Linked DNA regions of Homo sapiens: all the other regions are linked to region 2. Evidence: promoter capture Hi-C in 16 types of primary human blood cells and fetal thymus (Javierre and others, 2016). All regions are on one chromosome and are shown on one strand. The core of a region is centred on a gene start or on the middle of the fragment in contact, and the rest is flanking DNA. Distances in the headings are between cores, read along the strand shown. Region 1 overlaps EDC3 (enhancer of mRNA decapping 3). Region 2 holds the start of SCAMP5 (secretory carrier membrane protein 5). Region 3 overlaps MAN2C1 (mannosidase alpha class 2C member 1). Region 4 has its middle 16 kb from the start of COMMD4.

What was found. Contacts are between HindIII fragments. The CHiCAGO score rates a contact against its expected background, and 5 or more counts as called.
Region 1: a contact is called between a fragment that was not itself captured here and the fragment with the promoter of SCAMP5 in region 2, in 1 of 17 cell types (naive B cells). The highest score is 6.0, in naive B cells.
Region 3: a fragment that was not itself captured here is called in contact with the fragment with the promoter of SCAMP5 in region 2 in 1 of 17 cell types (monocytes); the score reaches 5.7 in monocytes.
Region 4: a fragment that was not itself captured here is called in contact with the fragment with the promoter of SCAMP5 in region 2 in 1 of 17 cell types (neutrophils); the score reaches 8.0 in neutrophils.

Annotation. Positions count from the first base shown.
Region 1 is chr15:74,630,344-74,633,043 of GRCh38, reverse strand. EDC3 (enhancer of mRNA decapping 3) reads left to right here. Exons shown (of 7, transcript NM_025083.5): 7 at 98-2,486. The coding sequence ends at 432. Among named protein-coding and RNA genes, the nearest start is that of CLK3, 16 kb to the right of the region's middle. RefSeq lists enhancers at 744-893, 954-1,013. The HindIII fragment of the contact is 1,742 bases long and covers 506-2,247 here.
Region 2 is chr15:74,994,291-74,996,990 of GRCh38, reverse strand. SCAMP5 (secretory carrier membrane protein 5) reads right to left here and starts at 1,428. Exons shown (of 7, transcript NM_138967.4): 1 at 1,318-1,428. The HindIII fragment of the contact is 14,301 bases long and covers 1-2,700 here.
Region 3 is chr15:75,363,124-75,365,823 of GRCh38, reverse strand. It overlaps MAN2C1 (mannosidase alpha class 2C member 1), which reads left to right. Exons shown (of 26, transcript NM_006715.4): 5 at 1,159-1,336; 6 at 1,636-1,825. Among named protein-coding and RNA genes, the nearest start is that of MAN2C1, 4.1 kb to the left of the region's middle. The HindIII fragment of the contact is 8,016 bases long and covers 1-2,700 here.
Region 4 is chr15:75,319,022-75,321,721 of GRCh38, reverse strand. It overlaps the pseudogene ANP32BP1. Among named protein-coding and RNA genes, the nearest start is that of COMMD4, 16 kb to the left of the region's middle. The HindIII fragment of the contact is 3,837 bases long and covers 1-2,700 here.

The sequences.
Region 1 (2,700 bases), core at 127-2,626, 360 kb after region 2:
AAAACAAAGACACCCTTGGGGTGACCTGGGCCCTAGTCCCAGCCTGGGCTGCTCTCTGCTCATAGGGACTTTCAGATGGCACTCTTTCCACCTGCAGATCTGCCCACTAGCCCTGTGGACCTGGTCATCAACTGCCTGGATTGCCCTGAGAACGTCTTCCTGCGCGATCAACCCTGGTACAAGGCAGCTGTGGCCTGGGCCAACCAGAACCGGGCACCAGTACTCAGCATAGACCCTCCTGTGCATGAAGTCGAACAGGGCATTGATGCCAAATGGTCACTGGCACTGGGCCTGCCTCTGCCACTGGGGGAGCACGCAGGCCGTATCTATTTGTGCGACATTGGCATTCCCCAGCAGGTCTTCCAGGAGGTGGGCATCAACTACCACTCGCCCTTTGGCTGCAAGTTTGTTATCCCACTGCACTCTGCTTAGAGGGTTCCTGCGCAGGCAGGACTCTGCTGTCCCCTGCTGCTCCTGATAACAAACGCCTTAAGGATATGAAGCTTCATGGACCTTGTTAAAGTTTTTTCTCTTTTGGGTTTGTTTCTTCTGTGAGAGAACAGAACTTACTTAAAACTGACCTGTCACTTGCTCTTAGCCAGGGAAGTCTTTCCCACTGGGTTCCGGGCTGGGTGGCAGGCTGAGCGTGCAGCAACTCCAGGCATCTCTACCCTCAGCCCCCTGCACGGCCAGGTGGGCCTTTGTTTACAGCCGTAGGCAGCTCTCAAGACTGTGTTTCAGGTTTACAGCCACTGGGCCTGGGCACACACATTGAAGAGTGGGCCAGGTCCTGTCTGGGGGCCTGTACCTGCTCTATTTCAGAGCTTGTGGCTTTGTGTCTCCCCTGCTTTCCCCACGCAGACAGCCCTTCCTCTGTAGAACCAGCTGCACGGCAGCTGTCCACCAGAGGGCAGACCTGCACTCTCCATTCATGTCCAGGGCTGTGACAGACCAGGCCTTCCCCTAGCCCCACAAGTTGATTTGGGGGGTTTTGACCCTTACTCCTGAGCTGATCCAAGTTTTATGCTGATTTTTCCAAGGATCTCTCCCTCCTTTTCCCTCCATCACTCAGAGGTAGGGAAGGGGGCGGCATTAGGATGGTGTTACTGTATTGGGATTTTATGTTGTTCTGTCGTCTTCAGCACAGGTAGTATAAGGTTATATTACTGTAGAACCACAGTGCCCATCTTGCCAGCAGTGCCCGCCCCCACCCTCAAAGCTGAGCAGGTTGAGCCTTTGCCTAGTCTGGGGCCAGACCCCTCAGATGGGGATATCCCTGGGGGAGCCTGGTGCTGAACCAGAAGAGGCTTCCTGGTGCTTCTGTCCTAGGCCACCACTCCTCCAGCCCTTTGCCCGCACATACATGCCCCACCTACTCTTTCATCCCCTCTGCCCTTCCCCTGAAACGGTCCTTTGCAGCTGTCATCCCAGAGCAGGCAGATGGGCTCCCGTGCTTGAGCTCCACCCCAGCTCTTACATCATCTGGGCTTTGAACCTTTTACATTTGTCCAGTCTAGATGAGTAGGCTTGGGGCCAGCACCCTGTCTCAAAGATGGCAAAATGAGGCTAGTTCTGGATGAGCTAGCTGGTGTGGGTTCCAACCATAGGAACACACTGATGCTCAAATCCTAAGGTGCCAAGCTCTAGGCCCTGGAGGCTGGTAGAACAGGATCTATGCCTGGAATCCTGGCAGGGATTCCTGTCAAGGACTTGTGTTTAAGCCTGCTTCAGGGCTTCAGGCTGCTTCTGCTCTGTGTCTGCCCAGGCTGGCTGAGCGGGTGGATGGGTGGACAGAAGGGCTCACCAAGGATTGTGGACATAGGGTAGGCCCTGGTACCACGGGTTTCAGGCTGTTATCACTTCCCTTGTAGGAACATAGCCAGAAGCAGATGAGCCAGGGTAGAGGGCTGGCCCCTCCTCTCATCTTCCCTTCAGTCTTAAATTGTCTCCAGCGATGGGAAGAGGCCAGGGACTGTAACCCTTGTGCTGTGTATTCTCTGAGCCTCTGCTCACTCTCAGGGCCAAGCAGCTCCCAAGCCGGGGCCCTCTCTTGGCCAAAATCTGAGGAGCAGTCTAGGTTACAGGCTTTTTGGTAGGTAGGTTCTGGCTGCCTGTTAATGCAGTTAGGCCCCCTGATTAGGTACAGTGAGAAACAAGCTAGAACAACCCTGGCCCAGAAGACTGTCCACTCCAGCAAGATCCAGGGATGATAGCCTTGCAGGGCCACTGGGAGTTTGTGCCCAAGCTTCTCCCTCTTCTCTCCCCAGGGGGCACTGGGACTGGTCCCTGCCCTCATCCTTAGCCTGGGCCTTCCCCAGAGGTATTAAAGAGAAGTATGATTCCTCTGTCTTCAGTTCTTTTCAGGGGCATCCTGCCCATAGTACCCAGTTCCCAAGGGGCCCCCAGTCACGTGGTGAAGCCTAGCACTCATGCAGCTCTTAGGGAACCAAAAACCAGCACTGAAATAAAGCTGAATGACTGACTGAGTCCTGTGCCGTGTGACTTGCTCTGTAGGCTGTCATGAGGTGCTGTCTGTCCCAGCCTAGGAACCCGCCCCACTCGTCTCCTGCCCTCAGCAGGCCATAGTTGTTGGGCACATACAGCCTAAAGTCCTGGCCAGTAATGGGACTGGCAGGCTGTGGAAAACCAGACCCCACCTGGCTAGCCACGGTGGGCTGATTCCCTTAGGTTCTCTGGGGC
Region 2 (2,700 bases), core at 179-2,678:
CAGCCACAGAGCCCAAGGTCTCTCTCTAGAACTCCCCTCCTGGGACCCCACTAACTCTCCAAGGGGTTTGCTAAACCTAAGACCCTCTTTCAGGGGCCCATTCACCAGAGACAGCCCCCTCTCAGCTCTAGAGACTTTGCCCTAAGGCTCACCAAGCCCAGAACAAACCTAAGTTAGCAAGACCTGTGTAGCCCCAAACAAAATCTCTCTGCCAATCATGCCCCTGCAAGAACCATCTCCCTCTTTCAGAGCCCTGCTCCGTGAGGCAGAACATGTAGGGGACAGGTTGCAAATTTCTCCAGACTCCACCACCCCATGGGCAGTCACATGGCTGAGCTCCCAGGCTCAGCCCCCAACAGCTGTGCTCGTTTTCATCCCTGTGCCTTTGCCCATACATTCTCCTGGAATGCCCTCTCTTGCCTCTCCTCCCACCCAAATCCCATCACCTCTGGAAGTCTCCTATTCGCTAGCTGTCGCCTCCCTTTCTCTCTGTGTCCCTGGGAAAGTCTGCCAGGCCCTCACTGATCTCCCCATCGGGAAGCTGGGACATTACTTGTTTAAGCCGCCTGTGACAGTGAATGCTCAGTCCGAGTCTCTACTTGGTTCCCCCAACCCACAGACCAGGAGCTCCCCGAGGCGGAGGACAAGGATCGGTTCACAAACACCTCACCTCCATCCTCGTGACCTCCGGCCAGCGTTGAAATGAGCCAAATCCGGCGCCCCCAACTCACCACCCAAAGCCCTGATGGAGCCCGCCTGGTGGCCTGGGCCAGCGCGCCCGTCGCCTCGCAACCCTGGGGCGGCTGAGGTCCGCCATCCAAAGGTCGGCCGCCCGAGGGAGGTGAGGGAAGTCAACCCGGGTCCACCTGCAGGCGCTAGTTGGAAGGAAAGGCCCAAAGGAAGCCACGGGCACCCCCTTCCAGTCGCCCCCATCCCCGGCTGCGCACGCCATCTCCAGAAGGCCGGTTTCCAGGGAACGCCAGGTGGGGCTGGCGGGGGGGATGGAGGGCCCAAAGCTCAGGCTCCAGATCCAGGGTCTGACGTCACCCAAAGGCCCAGTTCCCTCTGCGGGAGCCACAGATGGGAATGGGGGGGCTTGGGGGGCTCGGGGGGCCTGGGTGCGCCCTGAGCGCTCTCCCCCAGCCCCAAACAGTAAAGGTCACCTCCACTCCCACCTCTCCAGCAGTTCGGCCTTCTTCCTGCATCCAAAGGTGAAGTGTAGGAGGAACAAAGCTGCAGCCAGCGACCCCCACACCTCTCGCCCCGCGCCCAGCTTCCCTTCAAAGCTCTCCTCCCAGCCTTCATGCCCAGACTCACCTGCCGCGGCCGTTCGGCTGCCGAAAGGCCGCAGCGCTGCGCTGAGCTGCGCTGCACCCGAGCGATGCGGCGCGGAGCCGGCCGCGAGCCGCTCCGGGGCTGGGGGCGGGGAGCGCGCGCGCGCGCGCGCGCGCCCGAGGCCGTCTCTGCGCGCGCCCGCGCCGCCACTGCCTGCAGCAGTCACTCTCGCGAGACTTCCGCTCTGCTCCTAAGGCTGCTCCTCCTGAGCTCGCGAGAAGGACGACCCGGCCGCCCCGGCATCTTCCAGGAGCTGTCCGAGGTGCTAGTTCCCGGGCCCCGGCCGGATCAGGTGGTTGACGGGCACCTCAGGGACAAGAGCCTGGCGTGTAGGTGGAAGGAAGAGACCCAGAGATGGGAGCCTGGCACCAGCAGCCAGAGCCTCAGCTTCCATATCTGTAAACTGGGGAGAATAACCTCCTATACCTATGCCAGGAGCCTCTGGGACGTGCCAGAAAGGAGTGAGAAAGAGCTGAAAGCAGGAGAGTGTGGTGACTGCGGAAGGTCCTTCAGATCTGCAGGCGCAGGGGGAAAGAGAGAACAGAGGACGGAAGATCGGAGATGATATTCAGAGAGGCAAGGACACAGATCCACGGAAAGACGACATAGGAGGACGAGAAAGAAGAGCTGCAAACAGAGACAGAGACACACGGAGAGAGAGACTGAGATGAGAGCTCAAGGCCTGGAGAGAAAAAAGACATGGAAAGATAAGATAGGTAAGGGAGCATAATGAAGCAAGAAAGAGGCAAGAAATAGAGACAAATTACGCAAAGGAGCAGAGAGAGAGAGAGAGAGAGAGGAGAGGCTTAGAAAAAGAAAGAGACTCAGAAAAAGGAATGAAAGAGACAGTGATATGCAGAGATGAATACCAAGAGAGAGTAGAGGCAAGGGTAAATGTTTAAAAACCCAGAGCTTTGGAGGGTTGAGAGAGACCCACTTGGAGAGATGGGCTGGGAGTGAAGACAGGATTTTATTGTGATTGGTGTTTACATAGTAAACCTCCGTGGGATCTCTACAGGCAGGGCCAGGGCCACTGTCTGTCCTGCCAGCCAATTGCTCCTTCCCCTACACCATACACCCACCCTCCACCCCCCACCCACACCATCCTAGGCCTGGAAGGGGGCCTCAGTGGGTGGGAGACACTGCAGGGATTCTTTGCCTAGAATAAGGGCCCATTGTCTGGCTCCATCCTGCCAGGAGTGGGGCCTCACTCCCACAGCTGGCATGAAAAGGGGGTGGCAGTGAAAAAAGGCAGACAAGAACTAGTGTGGCAGAGGGGAAAAGGAGGGAGAGAGCCTCGGTGCCTGGGAAGGGCTGAGCAGGAAGCATCATCCTGCCACCAGGCCAACCAGGAAGGAAGGGTCC
Region 3 (2,700 bases), core at 153-2,652, 370 kb before region 2:
CGTGAGCCACCGCACCTGGCCCAGTATTCATGTTCTTGGTGTATCTTTCCGGCATAGTTTTTTTTGTTTTTTCGGGGGGGTTTTTTTGGATTTTTTTGAGACGGAGTTTCGCTTTTGTTACCCAGGCTGGAGTGCAATGGCACGATCTCGGCTCACTGCGACCGCCGCCTCCCAGGTTCAAGCAATTCTCCTGCCTCAGCCTCCCTACTAGCTGAGATTACAGGTGCCCACCACCATGCCCAGCTAATTTTTTGTATTTTTAGTAGAGACGGGGTTTGACTCTGTTGGCCAGGCTGGTCTCAAACTGCTGACCTCAGGCTATCCACTTGCCTGAGTCTCCCAAAGTGCTGGGATTACAGGAATGAGCCACCGTGCCCGGCTCATCCCGGTATAGTTTTTACTAGTTAAGATTGTATCCTGACTTCTTACATTCCATGTTATAACATGGACATTTTATGACACCATTAAAAACACTTCTTAGACATTATGAATGTATTTTATATAGATTGACACTGTTTCAGATGCTTTCAGACACTGGGAGTATGGTGGTGAATAAAATAGCCCTTGCCAACAAAGGGAGACAGATTCACTCATATAATTACAAAACTGAGGGCTCTGGAAGGAAATCCTGGGTACTCCACTGAGGAATTTGCTCTAGACTTAGCAGCGAAGTGGAGTCAGGAAGGCCTCCCTAAGGAAGTCGTGTTTGCTCTCTGAAGCCTAAGTATGGCATCACCACAGCCCAGCCTGTTCTCCAATGAATGGCCCGCCCATGTTGGCCGTGTTGGTTTTAGATCTTGGGTCTAAAAGTTTGAGCCTGGGAGATCCGAACATGATTTTAATATGCAAAGAGGGTTCCAAGACCAAGGCAGTGCTTTGCAAAGACAACTTTGGAAATATAAGACTAAACAGCAGCGTACTTTACATGGTTCCAAACTTTGCTACTTATTCTCTCTGACAGCAAGACATGGGATCCATCTGGTGTTTGTACCACAACCCTCCCACATGCACTCTTGTCACACTGTGGGATCCTCTGGGTAGTGGATCCTGGAAGCAGACAGGTTGGGCTCAGCTGGATGCCTCCTGGGTGCCCCTTCCCCAAGTCCCCGGAGTACTGTGCCAGTCCCTTAGCCTGAGGCTGTCTCCCCATCTTTGTAGCCTCACTCTCTATGTGGAAGTAGCCTGCAATGGGCTCCTGGGGGCCGGGAAGGGAAGCATGATTGCAGCCCCTGACCCTGAGAAGATGTTCCAGCTGAGCCGGGCTGAGCTAGCTGTGTTCCACCGGGATGTCCACATGCTCCTGGTGGATCTGGAGCTGCTGCTGGGCATAGCCAAGGTACTTGACACCCCCTGTACCCCCTGCTACCCTCTAGAGCCCTGCTCCAAGAAGGTTGTTCTTTGGGTCAGATAAATGGGACTCTGGGAATCCAGAGTAGGACGAGGGTTTCCACCTGCTTGAGGGTTGAGAGAATTTTCCTATGTGAAGGGGAGGAGGGAGACGGTGCTGAGCAGGGGGACCAGCAGGGAAAAAGGGTTGGGGGTCAGGGGAGCTCTGCTGAGAGCCCTGAGATCAGTGGAGCCTAGGTCTGGAAGCTGTGCTTGAAAAAGGGATTAAGGGGCAGAACCCTGCTGCAGGGCCTCGGGAAGGACAACCAGCGCAGCTTCCAGGCCCTGTACACAGCCAATCAGATGGTGAACGTGTGTGACCCTGCCCAGCCCGAGACCTTCCCAGTGGCCCAGGCCCTGGCCTCCAGGTTCTTTGGCCAACATGGGGGTGAAAGCCAACACACCATTCATGCCACAGGGCACTGCCACATTGATACAGGTAGGACAGCAGCTGGTTGGGCTGGCTGGGGAAGCAGGAGTGCCCTTGAAGACCTGGATGTGCCCTAGAAGCACTGTGTGATGCTCAGCAAGTTCTTGCTCCTCTTGGACCTGCGTTTTCCCCGTCTGTAAAACGGGGCCGGGGGGCTGGACTGTGGGCTCTGCTTGCTTTGGATTCACTTTTTTTTTTTTTGAGACGGAGTCTCACTCTTGTCACCCAGGGTGGAGTGCAATGGTGTGATCTCGGCTCACTGCAACCTCTGCCTCCCGGGTTCAGGCGATTCTCTTGCCTCAGCCTCCTTAGTAGCTGGGATTACAGGCACCCACCACAATGCCTGGTTAATTTTTGTATTTTTAGTAGAGACGGGGTTTCACCACGTTGGCCAGGCTGGTCTCAAACTCCTGACCTCAGGTGATCCGCCTGCCTTGGCCTCCCAAAGTGCTGGGATTACAGGCATGACCCACCGTGCCCAGCCTCATTTATTCTTTCAACAAAATCTGATGCCTCATGGGGCCCATGCTAGATATTGAGGGTAGGATTACAGAGACAGATTCAGCAGGCAGAGTTGGTGTCACAATGGTGGGGAGTCTGAGGCACTGGAGAGCACAGGAGAGGTACTTACTCCAGCTGGGTTGGGGGATTCCAGAGAGGCTTCCTGGACAAGTTTGCAGTGTCTGAGTTTTACGGGAAATCCACATTTTTAACAAGCTCCTGAAGGTATTGATTCTGATGCAGCCGAAGTTTTGGGATCACAGAACAAGGGCTTTCTCTGCTGTGCCAAGATGTAGGGTAAGGTGTGAGAGGTTCTGGGCTGGTAAGGGAGGAACTGCAGCCTGGGAGTCAGGAGAGGCTGTAGCACCTCTGGTAGGACAGCT
Region 4 (2,700 bases), core at 142-2,641, 320 kb before region 2:
CATGGATTTGGTAGCTGTTAAAAAAAAAAAAAAAAAGGTAGCTGATACAAACCCCAGGACACCCACCCACCCAAAGAGCCAAAGAATAGTTCCTGTGACATTCCGTCTTCCTCCATGTAGTCCCTCTTGGTAATCTACCAATCTACCATCGAGCTTAGGGACTTCACCCCAACAAAATTGTAAGTGTTGTTAGGTTTTTGTGTGAGACTCTTGCTGTAGCGTAGATAGCTGTGATTGGTGAGTCAACCATCTGTGGCTACCAGTTACACTGGGACTGTAACAGCATTTTTACTTTCTGTACAACAAAAATCTTTGTAAATAAAATCTTAACATTAAAATAACAATAATAATAATAATGTTGATTGTATGCAGGTCTGGCAAACCTTTGACACACTGAATGACTGGCATCTCTAATCCATCCAATTCACAATTGCCCCTGGCCAGGCCCTGTCCTAGGCTAGGTCACCTGCTGGAAGATAAGACTGTGGATTCTCTCCTGCTTGGCTTTGGGGTAGAGATGCCAGATAAGATATAGAACACCCAGTTGAATTTAGATTTCTGATAAAAAATAAACTATTTTTTAGTAAGTATGTACCATGCATATTTAGGACATACTTATACTAAAACTTATTTCTCTAAATTTTTTTTTCACCATCTTCACAGGTGTTGATATTTCTCTAAATTCTTTAATGTATGTATGTAGTTACTTTAAAGCTCTTGCCTGCTAATTCCAATGTGTGAGCCATTTATGGGTCTGCTTTCTCTCTTTTTTTTTGTGTGTGTGTGTGATAGAATTTTGCTCTTGTAGCCCAGGCTGGAGTGCAATGGCACCATCTCGGCTCACTCCAACCTCCACCTCATCTGGCTGGTCTTGAATTCCTGGTGATCTGCCTGCCTCAGCCTCCCAAAGTGCTGGGAGTACAAGTGTGAGCCACCATGCCTGGCCCTTTTTTTGTTGTTGTTTCTTTGAGATAAGTTCTCACTCTGTTGTCCAGGCTGGAGTGCAGCGGCATGATCTCAACTCACTGCAACCTCCACCTCCCAGGCTCAAGCCATCCTTCCACCTCAGCCTTCCAAGTAGCTGGGACCACAGGCACGTGCCACCAGCAGTCCTGGCTGGTTTCGTGGAAGACAATTTTTCCACAGACGGGGTTGGGGGTGGTGGTTATGGTATGAAACTGTTCCACTTCAGATCATCAGGCATTAGATTCTCATAAAGAGTGTGAAACTTAGATCCCTCGCATGTGCAGTTCACATTAGGGTTCACGCTTCTATGAGAATCTAATGCCTGCTGATCTGACGGCGGGTGGAGCTCAGGCAGTAATGCTCGCTGTCCACCACTCACCTCCTGCTGCGCAGCCTGGTTCCTACCAGGTTACCTACGGGTACAGTCCACAGCCTGGGGGTTATGGGCCCCTGCACACCACCATACCCAACTCGTTTCTGAATTTTTAGTAGAGATGGGGTTATGCCATGTTGCCCAGGCTGGTCTCGAAGTCTTGAGCTCAAGTGATCTACTTGCCTTGGCCTCCCAAAGTGCTGGGATTACAGGCGTGAGCCACCATGCACAGTGGGTCTGTTCATATTGACTGGGTTTCTCTTAATTTTAGGATATATTTTCTCACTTTTTTCACACATCTAGTATTTCTTGAGCTGTTGGACGTTGTGAACCTTCATTGTAGAGATGTGGGTTATGTTATCCTACTCTAGTGTTGAGTTTTATTTTGGCAGGGAATTAAATTACTCGTGGGTTAACTTGATCATGTGTGTCAAGGGTACATTTTAGGCTTTGTTAGGGTGACCTGTTTTTCAGTTTTGCCCTTATTCCCAGGGAATCTTCCTTAATCCCAAGGCATGGCCTTCTAGGCCCTCTGTGAATGTCTGGAATATTCATCAAGATCTGAGATTCCAAGAGTGGAGACTCTGGCTGAGCCAGAATTCAGATGTATCTCCAGCAGTCTGTGACTGAAATCGCTGTTTAGCTTTCAGCTCCCCATCGGCTGTTCTGTGCTGGGCCTTGCAGAGCCTCAATCTGCACACTCATTGTTTGGGATTTGGCCAAGGACCTGCAGCAACCTCTGTAAGATTTCTGGGGCTTCTCCTCTGCAACTCCGTCCTTTCTGATACTCTGCCACACACATTTTAGCAGCCCTGAGCACCAGTCTCTGTTTCCTTCACCAAACAAGACTGATCCTCTTGGCTTGGACTCTGCTTCCTCGTGCTGTCATTGAGGGTTTAGAAACTTTCCCCACCAGAAAAATGTAGCAGTCACTTCATGTGATTCCCTTCTCTCAGATTGTACATGGAACTGCCTATTGCCCAATGCCTGAAGACAATTTCTTCATGTACTTTGTCCAGCTTTGTAGTTGTTTATGCTGGGAGACCATCATCAATACAGGTACTCTATCATGGTCACAATTCGAAGTATGATTAATATCATATTCATTCTATTCTAAAAGTAGAGAAGACAAAGACCAAAAATTCTAAGAAAAATGGAAAAAAAAATATGAAAGTTCAAAGAAAAAGAAACCCAAATGCCGCTGACACACAGGAAAAAATGTTTAACTTCACTGATAATAAGAAAGATACAATTTTAGGCCGGGTGCAGTGGCTCACACCTGTAATCCCAGCACCTTGGGAGGCTGGGGTGGGAGGATCGCTTGAGGCCACAAAGTGAAGGTGGCAGTGAGGCAAGAGGGC